4 separate regions of the Homo sapiens genome follow, and regions 2, 3 and 4 are each linked to region 1. The links are contacts of gene promoters, found by promoter capture Hi-C in human tissues and cell types (Jung and others, 2019). All regions are on one chromosome and are shown on one strand. The core of a region is centred on a gene start or on the middle of the fragment in contact, and the rest is flanking DNA. Distances in the headings are between cores, read along the strand shown.

Evidence for each region. The method cuts DNA at HindIII sites, captures the fragments that hold promoters and counts their contacts. A contact is called where the count stands out against the background at its distance.
Region 2: a fragment that was not itself captured here is called in contact with the fragment with the promoter of GALNT16 in region 1 in 6 of the 25 tissues and cell types used here (H1 embryonic stem cells, heart right ventricle, liver and 3 more).
Region 3: a contact is called between a fragment that was not itself captured here and the fragment with the promoter of GALNT16 in region 1, in 4 of the 25 tissues and cell types used here (adrenal gland, lymphoblastoid cells, mesenchymal stem cells and 1 more).
Region 4: a contact is called between a fragment that was not itself captured here and the fragment with the promoter of GALNT16 in region 1, in 11 of the 25 tissues and cell types used here (aorta, bladder, dorsolateral prefrontal cortex and 8 more).

The regions. Positions count from the first base shown.
Region 1 is chr14:69,258,892-69,261,591 of GRCh38, forward strand. It overlaps GALNT16 (polypeptide N-acetylgalactosaminyltransferase 16), which reads left to right and starts at 1,267. Exons shown (of 15, transcript NM_001168368.2): 1 at 1,267-1,576. The coding sequence starts at 1,400. GALNT16-AS1 (GALNT16 and EXD2 antisense RNA 1) reads right to left here and starts at 1,636. Exons shown (of 4, transcript NR_184249.1): 1 at 1,399-1,636. RefSeq lists a silencer at 2,313-2,372. The HindIII fragment of the contact is 13,760 bases long and covers 1-2,700 here.
Region 2 is chr14:69,117,492-69,120,191 of GRCh38, forward strand. DCAF5 (DDB1 and CUL4 associated factor 5) reads right to left here. Exons shown (of 9, transcript NM_003861.3): 3 at 1,703-1,739; 4 at 648-787. Among named protein-coding and RNA genes, the nearest start is that of DCAF5, 34 kb to the right of the region's middle. The HindIII fragment of the contact is 7,416 bases long and covers 1-2,700 here.
Region 3 is chr14:69,423,505-69,426,204 of GRCh38, forward strand. It overlaps SLC39A9 (solute carrier family 39 member 9), which reads left to right. Exons shown (of 7, transcript NM_018375.5): 2 at 590-698. Among named protein-coding and RNA genes, the nearest start is that of SLC39A9, 26 kb to the left of the region's middle. The HindIII fragment of the contact is 3,966 bases long and covers 1-2,700 here.
Region 4 is chr14:69,402,856-69,405,555 of GRCh38, forward strand. The region is part of intron 1 of SLC39A9 (solute carrier family 39 member 9); the gene reads left to right. Among named protein-coding and RNA genes, the nearest start is that of SLC39A9, 5.5 kb to the left of the region's middle. The HindIII fragment of the contact is 6,795 bases long and covers 1-2,700 here.

The DNA.
Region 1 (2,700 bases), core at 17-2,516:
CAACGCCTGGCAGCTCTCTCTCTTGAACACATCAAGCTCTTCCATCCTCTGGATTTTTGCAAGGCCTATTTCTGCAGTCTCTCCCCTGTCCTCACCTCCCCCTTCCTTACCTCTTAAGTGATTCATCCACCTTTCTGAGAGCTTTCCCAAAGGCCACCTTACAATAAATTATTTCTTCCTCTGTTGGATCCCTACTTTGTTGTTACACATCTATTCATTGAGCGCTCTGTGCCCGACACTGTGCTGGTTTCCTAAAACTCATCCAAGCCTCTTGCTTTCTGCCTGGAGTGAAGAGTAGTTCACGTTCTGATTCTCAGTGCCTCTAGGGCTGGAGCGGAATCTTAATGTCTGTGTCCTCGTCTCTCACCACCGCGTTTTGCACTTTGTCGAAAGGTGTCAGATGGTGAGATGGCTTCTAGACTGGGCTCTGCCCACTAATTAGCTGTGTGGCCTTGGGAGAATCATCCGGCCTCTCTTGCTGCCCTTCTTTCCGATGAAATAATGCTGACGATGATATTTCAGGGTTGTCCAGGGGTCAATGAGGCGGGATAGAGGGAAGCATCGTGAAATCTGGGAGCCCCAGGCCAGCGAAAAATGTGGAAGGGCCGTACCCGCACTCTCCTAGCACTGGGTGTGAGGCAGCGTCGTTTCCCCTTCGCGCTCTTCGAATGTCAAGTGCACCAGCTTCCAATCCCTCCTCTGGGCGGGCCCGGTCTGGCTAATCTCAGCTGCAGATTCCAGTACAAACTCAGGACTCTCCCCCGCCCAGCCGCCCCTACACAAGGACTCGCCGAACACACCTTGAATCCCGCGCCAGAGCGCAGCCCGGAACTGCAGCTCGCGGCGCGGGCCCAGGTCGGGGGTCGCGCGTCTCCAGTCGGTGACTCAAGGCCGCTCGGTCCGGGGGTGGGTGTGGGTCGGCAGGACCGACCAGGGCCGCGCGGGGGCAGCTGCCGGGCGTTCGGTCACCTAGCGGTGGGAGCCGAGGCTGGCTTTGGCCAGTCGCCATTCCGCCGCGGGCGTCTGTCTCGCCGGGTTCCCGGGCGCGGGAGGAAGGCCCGCGCCGCTTCCCACTCGGCGCGCTTCTCTCCCAGTGCGCAGTGGCCTGGTGGGTCAGCCGGCGGCGGCTGGAGCGCGGGGCCGGCCCTGCGCACGAATGAATGGGCGCCCGGGGGACGCGCGCGCTCGGGGCTGAAGGGCATTAGGACCGTGAGGATCGCTCCGCGATCCTGTCTCTCCCTATCACCCCCCCGCCCCCCCACCTCTCTCCTTTTTCTGCTCTGCAGGACTGAGCAGCTAGGCGCGAGCGAAAACAAACAGCTGGGGCTGCGAGCGCCCCCGCCCCGGCCCCGAGAGCACGCCGGCCCAGTCCCCCACCTGGGGCGCCCGTCTGCCCACCATGAGGAAGATCCGCGCCAATGCCATCGCCATCCTGACCGTAGCCTGGATCCTGGGCACTTTCTACTACTTATGGCAGGACAACCGAGCCCACGCAGCATCCTCCGGCGGCCGGGGCGCGCAGAGGGCAGGCAGGAGGTCGGAGCAGCTCCGCGAGGACCGCACCATCCCGCTCATTGTGAGTACGCCCCGAGCGTCGGCCGGCCGGCTAGGGAGCCGCGGCGCGCGTCCAGACCCTGCGCGGCGGCCGAGGGCGCGGGGCCCGGCCAGGGCTGAGTGCCCGCTGCGCCGGGCCGGCTTTGTATATGTTGGAGCATTCCTGCCCGTTGTTATGGCAACCTCTGCCGGGCGGCGGGGCTGGGGCGCACCGACTAAGGGAGGGTGACAGAGGGTGGGGGCTGGGAGAAAGTGCTGCAAGTTTGGTGGGCCCGGCGTGCGCGCGCGGCTGGGAACGTGGCGGCTCTCCCGGCTCTGCGCTGCCGGGGCCGGGAGTCTGGGGGCTGCGGGAGCCTCGTGTGCCCCGGAAGGCTGCCGGGCCCAGCGCGCGGCGAGCGGGCGGTGGGAACCACTCGCAGCCGAGCGCGTAGGTGGCAGTGCGCAGCCCCTCTCCAGCCTTCTGGGGGCAGAGGACATCGGGTGGGGGCGTGGGTAGGGGAAGGCTCTCTAGGCGCTGCGCCTGGCTTCGAACCCCCTTCTGAGCCGGGTCAACTTGAACCCGCTTCTTCGGCGCGGACACCCAGCTTCCCCGGAGTTCTCTGGGTTGAGGAGAGGTCTCGCACTGTACGCGTCTCTCACTCCCAACCTTAGGGTCCGCCACCACGGGTAGGTGGGCAGTGTCAGCGCCCGAACTTGGCGATACCCTTGCATGAAGTCAGCCTCGCGACATCTAAGCGGGCAGGGAAACAAAGGCAGTGTGGCACAGCGGGGGCGGCGGCGGGGCTGCGGGGGCCCTTGGCGCTCTGGGGACCCGGGCGGGGGCGTGCGGAGCCGCAGCCGCCCTGCAGGGGGCGATCCTGTCGCCGTCTCCGTCCGAGCCCCAGGTGACAGAGCTGTGCGTGGCCAGGCAGGGGCACCTGTTGAGGCGGGAGGCTTTGGCACCCGCCGAGAGTGCGCTCGAGCGGGCGCATTCTTCCAGACGGGGGCGGTTGGTGGACGAGAGCCTCGGACGACCCTCGGGAACTACCAGGGCGGGGCAGCCTGGCCGGATGAGGACCAGGAAGAGGAGAGCCGAGTGGGGCGGGGGTAAAGGAGTGAGGAAGCGTGGCGATTCCGACAAGGAAAGATCTGGGCCTGGGGGTGGAG
Region 2 (2,700 bases), core at 80-2,579, 140 kb before region 1:
GGTGGGTATGGCAGTGGCACTAAGGCTGGTACTAGAGGAAGGGGCCTTTTGAAGACAGGTAGAATTACAGAAATCTCTCTGTAGGAAATGAGCTGAGAAGATGCATTTCCTGAAGAACTTCAGAGAAAGTCAACAAAGCAACTTCTTCATTTCACACATCAGAGAGTCAAAGGGCACATTCAGAGGAGGCACTCACACGACAATCCCCTTTAAACAGAGTTTATTTGCCATCATTTTAAGATCCTATACACAGGTAATTTGAGATTCGGTGGTTCTTTCAACAAAATAACAAGCCTGAAACTAGGATGCAGGAAAGTGCATAACGCCCCCATTCTCTGTAAATAATCAAGAATAGTTACATGTCAGCACCACAACTTCTGCTCCTTGGGGCACTAAACACCAAAGTACAAGGGTTTGTGGAGAGTCACAGGAGGGTGGAGAAGGACTGGCAAAGGTGCCTCACTCCTGAGTATTTAGGTGGAGGATAAGGCCTCCAAAGACCTCTTATGCCCCCATGTGAGTGTTTCACATTTCCTTTCCCTTGACATCACTTGCACATAGATACTGAGGTAATAAATTGGATCTTCAATGAATCTGACATCAAACTGTTCAACACAGTCCAACAGTCATTTGCACAGTGAGCCTACCTCCATGGGGGGATTCCCGAATGTCCCAAATGAGAACCCGGCCATCATCTGAGGAACTGGCAAAAATGTTGTCATTCACTGGGCTCACAGACAAGCCATATACTGCATCTTCATGAGCAAACACGTCCAATGTCTCACTGCTGGGAGATAAGAGAGCAAGACAGAGGCACACACATACACACAAGCATAGTGCAGAGTCCCAGCACTTTGGTACCGAGGGTGCCATCTTTTCCATTTCTAGAAGAAAGTCAACCTAGCTAAACCCAAAAAATATTATATTTCCTGAAAGGTAGGTAGTCAACTTTCAGGTTAAAAAAAAGGTACTATTAAGGAGTCTTTTTAGAGATTTTATAATTTTTGTGCTAAATAAGCATATTTAAAAGTGACTCAATAGCTGAGTTTTGTATTTTCATTTATTACAGAATGCATCTGCTTGTGTACAGATTTGGGGGTCATACTTGATTTTCAAAAAGCAAGGGAAAGCTTTAAAGCAGCCAAGTCTGATGCCTACAGGATGGGAGAGGGGTCTCCTAGCAATCTGGCATGGTGATGAAGAGCATGGCTCTGAGGCCAGATAGCCTAAGTTCAGGTTTTAGTACCACCTGACCTTCTGTTATCTAACATGTCTGTGACTCCGTTTCCTGATCTAGAACGGAGATGACAATAGTATCTCCTCAGAAAATGAGTGTGAGGATTAAATGAATGAATATGTACAAAGCATTTACAATGGTGTCTGGCACATAGTAAGAACTCAATCAATATTAGCTATTACTGTTCTTAAATATTATGGTTCCTTCTCTTCTAAACTCTTGTTTTAAATTTTCACCTAAAAAGTACACTCTCATACCAACTTTCAAAACTTTCAAATCCCTTTTTCCTTTTTAAATCAAAACTTTATTTATTTCAAACTATTGTAGGAATTTTTTTAGAAAAGAACAGCTGGTTTCATGTTGTTTTTTTCAAAAAACAAAAACTATTTTAGTCTAAAGAGATATTTGCCTCTTCATATATGAAAAACAAAGTCAATCACCTTCACACACCACCAATCTATTTACCTTTCAACATCATGGAGGATAACTTGCTCATCATTGCCTGCAAAAGAAAAAAGCAGACATCTGATCATTCGTGCAAGGTGGTCCCTGTCCACATTACAATTTAGTATTTTTAAGTTTTCAGGGAAAAAATATGAACAAAGCCAATGCTAATACAAATTAGAAGTGTTAACTGGAAAAAAGATTTATAGAAATAATTTAAGAAGGATAGGACATTCTTACAGAGAATTTTTAAAAAATAATGGCATCCAAGTATAACACAGTAACAGTTCCCAATGTGTATTATCCAGTGGATGATGTAAAAAAAAAAAACAACTGTGGCTACAACCTGGGCAACATAGTTAGACTCCATCTCTATGAAAATAAAAATAAAAAAATTAGCCAACTGGTGGCACACCCTTGAAGTCCCAGCTACTAAGGAGGCTGAGGTGGAAGAATCGCTTGAGGTCAGGAGTTCAAGGCTGCAGTGAGCTACGATCGCACTCCAGCCTGGGCAACAGAGAGAGACTGTCTCAAAAAAAAAAAAAAAGTAGGGGGGAAACAACACAAAACAAAACTGTGGCCATCAAGAAAAACACTAAATGATCATTGACAAATCAATTCACTAGCTTTATTTTTTTTCTTTTTCAGCAGAACACTCACTAATCATGAGACCTGCAATAAAATCTTTAGCATTTCTATGACCTAACTTTTTAACCTACAGAATAGGGATAATAACATCATAGAGTAACTGTAAGCATAAGAGTACATCTGTAAAAGCATTCAGAATAGGGCTGATCACTTAATAAGCCCCCAATAAATGTTTGTTAATATTTCTATCCTCATGGTCTTTTAAAAATGTTTCTTTCTTTCTTTCTTTTGAGACAGGATCTTGCTCTGTTTGTCTTTTAAAAATTTTTCTTCTTTCTTTCGAGACAGGATCCTGCTCTGTTGTCCAGGCTGGAGTGCAGTGGTGCAATCATGGTTCACTACAGTCTTGACCTCCTGTGCTCAAGCAATCT
Region 3 (2,700 bases), core at 48-2,547, 160 kb after region 1:
TGTAGCAATTCACATTCCTTCCAGTATTAAAGTGTACTCATTCTTCCTATCATGGATAGTAGACATTTTCCCAAATCATTGTTAACCTGGTCATTTAAAAAATTTCATCTCAGTCAGGCACAGTGGCTCACGCTTGTAATCTCAGCACTCTGGGAGACCGAAGCGGGCGGATCACCTGAGGTCAGGAGTTGGAGACCAGCCTGGGCAACATGGTGAAACCCCGTCTCTACTGAAAATACAAAAATTAGCCAGATGTGGTGGTGCACGCCTGTAATCCCAGCTACCCGGGAGGCTGAGGCAGGATAATCGCTGGAACTTGGGAGGCGAAGGCTGCAGTGAGCCGAGACCACGCCACTGCCTCAAGCCTGAGCGACAGAGCAAGATTCTGTCTCAAAAAAAAAAAAAAAAAAATTCATCTCTTTGTTTTACTTGGCATTACTCATGCAATTGATCATTTTTCATCTTCGCTGTCTATTGTAGATGTTGGTCTCACAAATGAGCAGCTCACAGTCTTGATTACAGATACTTGAGAAACTTTTTCCCATTAATTAATCAAAGTTTGCAATTATTTCTTTTGCTTTCTCCCCAGGAACGACTGAAGCTGGTGACTGTTTTGGGTGCTGGCCTTCTCTGTGGAACTGCTCTGGCAGTCATCGTGCCTGAAGGAGTACATGCCCTTTATGAAGATATTCTTGAGGGTGAGAAAGGGAAGAGCATTATTTGAGATATGTTATTGACTTGGAGGGTTAGCAGGATGAAGCTTAGTGGTATGTTTTCTGAGCACAGTTCATGTTTACCATAGAGTTCTACCCTGAGAAGATTTGTTGAGAGATATCTTGATATCTTTGATATTGACACATCCTTAGCAGTTTGTCAACTGAATGTCCCAATTCATGAATACCACTTAATGTTTATTTGCCACAGTGCATGAATGAGTCATTTTAAGTTATGACAGTTCTTTTTTAATGCTTACTCAAACACTTCCCAAATCCCACATGATAGTGGCTGCATTTTTTGTTTAATTTAAAAATATATAGATATAAATATTTAAATTTAAGGACCCTTTACAGTAAACTTTATAGATAATTGATGAGGACCCATGCAGTAAAGGATAACTGAAAAAATTAAAGAGGCCTTTCCTGACCCTAATAGCAACAAGCAGAGGGAACAGTATAGCTGTGTGAGAGTAAATGCTTGGTGGTCAGCTTGGCTTACTCACCAGCAAAGTAATTTGGTCCTTCACACAGCTGAAAAGCATACTTGATTCACATTTGTGACTTAGCAAAATCCGATTACTACATGTCATGAAACTTCACAGTTACCTGTGAAGGATTGACACCACAGCTGTTAAATCCATGAGCTGAATCCTCAAGTACCAAGTCTACCAGATGTTAAGAATAGTATAAAGAGGTAGGCACTTCCAAATTTCTTACTAGATACAATATAATAAATACTTTTTCAGATCTTGGTAGAGGAAAAGAACTGTGTCCTTTATCCAGAATGGTGATGCTCTTAGGCCTGGGGTTTGATAGACAAAGAGTTTTGGCAGATATAAATGAGGATTGCAGAAGTGTTGCAAGATAGGACAGGGGCTGAGGAGTGGTCAGCTGCATTGGGGAACAGTAATAAATCAGGAGCCTTAAAGCAGTGGTCTCTACTTTTTTTATGGTCACACATCCTACAGAGGGAGGGAGGAATGATTTACATGCACTATTGCACTGATTTAATGTGTACATTATAAAATACACTCCTAAAACAGGAATATTTTTGAGACCTGAGATTTAAATATACATAGAACAGTATTTTCTTTCATATTCTAGTGGGTCATCTTGAATTTTTCTGGGATGTGATTCCACTATAGAAATCACTATCCTAACATTTGTCCTTTTATGGGTGGCAGTTGTTTTCTAAAGTTGTCTGATAATGAAAATTCCTTGAGGAAGAGGCACATTTTAAAAGTATGATTTCCTGACCTCCAGGAAGGATCCCGGGAATATCTATTTTTAACAAGCTGTCTGCAATTCTTATGAAACAAGTTTCAGAAACACTGGAGTAGAGGAAAGAAGTGCTTCAAGTATAGTTTCTTTGTGTTATTTTTAATATCAATTTGAGATATAATTTACATACCCTGTTTCAGGTATAGTTGGGGGTTTTGGGTTTTTTTTTTTATTTGTTTGTTTTGAGACATGGTCTCACTCTGTCGCCCAGGCTATAGTCCAGTTTTGCCATCACAGCTGAAATCTCTTGGGTTTAAGCAATCCTCCCACCTCAGCCTCCTGAGTAGCTGGGACTATAGTATAGATGCACACTGCTATGCCTGACTAATGTTTAATTTTTTTTTGTAGAGATAGAGTCTCCTTCTGTTGCCTAGGCTGGTTGCCAATTCCGGGACTCAAGCGATCCTCCCAAGTTGGCCTCCCAAAGTGCTGGGATTACAGGTGTGAGACACCTCACCCAGCCCAGGTGTAGTTTAAGACTAAAATTATCTACCGTGTGTTAGGTTGTGTGTAGAGAAAAACTCTCTCTAACCGTGTTTTTCCTGTGCTCTCACACCACAACAATCATAAACACAGAAGAAAAACTTCTGTAACCAGATGCGTGGCAATATCTCCCCACTACCAAGCAGTGGACACCAGCCAGGTGTCCTCCAATTTAATTCTGACGCTGTCTACCTGGAGGCAGTATCAGATCCCACAGATC
Region 4 (2,700 bases), core at 43-2,542, 140 kb after region 1:
CGGATTACCTGAGGTCAGGAGTTCGAGACCAGCCTGGCCAACATGGCGAAACCCCATCTCTACTAAAAATACAAAAATTAGCTGGGCGTGGTGGCATGTGCCTGTAATCCCAGCTACTCAGGAGGCTGAGACAGGAGAATTGCTTGAACCCAGGAGGCGGAGGTTGCAGTGAGCCGAGTCCCACCATTGCACTCCAGCCTGGGGAACAAGAGCAAAACTTTGTCTCAGAAAAAAATAAAAATAAATAAATAAAAATAAATAAATAAAGGAGGCCAAAGCATGCTTTACACAAAGGAAGCCCTGTTTGGTAAGGGAGTGAGACCCGTTGGTTTATAGTTAACACTGTCTTATGTTTTTTCGATTGAATTGCTAATGAGTAGTTTTCTTTGGCTCTAAATAACAATGTTACATAAGTAGGTTGAGAGCCTATATTACCTAGTATAAACTCAGTGCTGCTGCAGTTGATAAATGGAGCTATGATACAAAAACAGATGGCTCAAGTGGGATTTCAGATTGATTATCTGAGGGTTGTTACTCACCTGAGTATGTCTCCTCTTTGTCACAGAGCTGGTAACAGAGAGCAAGCTGTTTTTGGCTCAGAGCTCTACAGCAATATTCCTCAAACTGCCTGGTAAAGGATCAGTTTTTGTTTTTAATTTTTATTTCAATCCATACCAATACACTTATAAAAATGAAATAGTAGGAAAATGAAGTGAAAAAAAGACATAGAAAATACAAGCCCAAATGTATTGTTAAATTCAACAGATAAAAAATTACTACTATAATTGTAATAATCATATTGCTCTAAAAATTTCTGAAGGCTTTATCTCAGTTGCCATACTTTTCTTATTGCAGACCAGTTTGAGTTATAATGCCACATTTTTCATGTATTAAAACAGCAAAGCAGGCCAGGCGTGGTGGCTCACGCCTGTAATCCCAGCACTTTGGGAGGCCGAGGCAGGCGAATCATCTGAGGTCGGGAGTTCGAGACCACCCTGACCAACACGGAGAAACCCTGTGTCTACTGAAAATACAAAATTATTTGGGCGTGGTGGCACGTGCCTGTAATCCCAGCTACTTGGGGGGCTGAGGCAGGAGAATCGCTTGAACCTGGGAGGCGGAGGTTGCAGTGAACCAACATTGCGCCATTGCACTCCAGCCTGGGCAGCAAGAGCAAAACTCCCTCTCAAAAAAACAAAAAACAAACAAACAAAAACAGCAAAACTGGATGTAGTGGCACACACTGGTTAGTCCCAGCTACTCCAAATGCTGATGTGGGAGGATCACTTGAGCCCAGGAGTTCAGGGTTGCAGTGAGCTATGAGTGTGCCTGTGAATAGCCACTGGCAACATAAGGAGACCTACTCCCTAAAATAACCAACAGCATAAATCCATAAGTTGGCAGATGAAAGTAGTGCTATTCTTAGGATGATTTTAAAGATGAATATGATTAATAATGCACTGATTTCAAAAGGGACTGTCTGAGACAGTATCATTCAAAGTCAATGTTACTACTTGAACAAGCTATTAAAATCCAAATCTCTTCTGTTAAATGACCTTCTAGGATTGTTGTGAGGTTGAAATAATATAAGCACAGGCTTAACACTATGTCTAGAACATAATAAAAACTTTCAAAAATATTGAGGCAGATTCTCAATACTGATTAGAAAAACTTGTAAAGATTTTCATTTTTATAACTTTGTTCTAATTTATAATTGTTAAACCTTTTATTTGGAAACAGACTTAATAATGGGAAGCTCCTCCCCCTCCTCCCCTTCGCAGTCATGGAAACTTCTCGGCAATTTGTTTGGAATCCAAAGGTCTTGTTGTGGGGTTTGGTTTGCATTACTATTTACCATTCTATTTGGAGAGGCCAGGGCTTTTCCTCTACCCTCCCTGCTTTATACTATTTTTCTTAGTATTTAACTCTCTTTTCTTCATTATACTTACTCTCATTTTAAGCTTTGTTTTGTTCTTTCGTGTTTTAAAGTTTTGTGTCTGTATTAGTCCATTCTTACACTGCTAATAAAGACATTTCTGAGACTGGGTAATTTATAAACGAAAGAGGTTTGATTGACTCACAATTCAGCATAGCTGGGGAGGCCTAAGGAAACTTACAATCATGGCAGAAGAGGAGGCAAACACATCCTTCTTCATGGGGCGGCAGGATGGAGAAGTGCTGAGCAAAAGGGGGAAAGCCCCTTATAAAACCATCAGATCTCGTGAGAACTCACTGTCACAAGAACAGCAAGAACTCACTATCACAAGAACAGCATGACCTCCCACCAGGTCCCTCGCATGGGAACTACAACTCAAGATGAGATTTGGGTGGGGACACAACCAAACCATATCAGTGTCTGATTATAATAACTGACTCATTCATAATAAGTATCTTTAGGGGTTTGAGTTACCCGCAAATCAAAGGTTTATTGTGTCTGAAGAACAGATTTATTCAGTATGCTTCTGCCTCTACAATAGGTTCTCTTTGAAGTAGATTTAACAATGTTACATTTTTAAGGACTTTTATATTGTCTGGTACATTGCTCTTACCCTCTTATGGTAATACAAGAGATTTTATACCTGTTTGGAATTTCATTTGTAAATTCTAAGATTTGAGCCGGGCATGGTGGCTTATACCTGTAATCCCAGTGCTTTAGGAGGCTGAAGCTGGAAGTTTGCTTGAGGCCAGGAGTTTGAGACC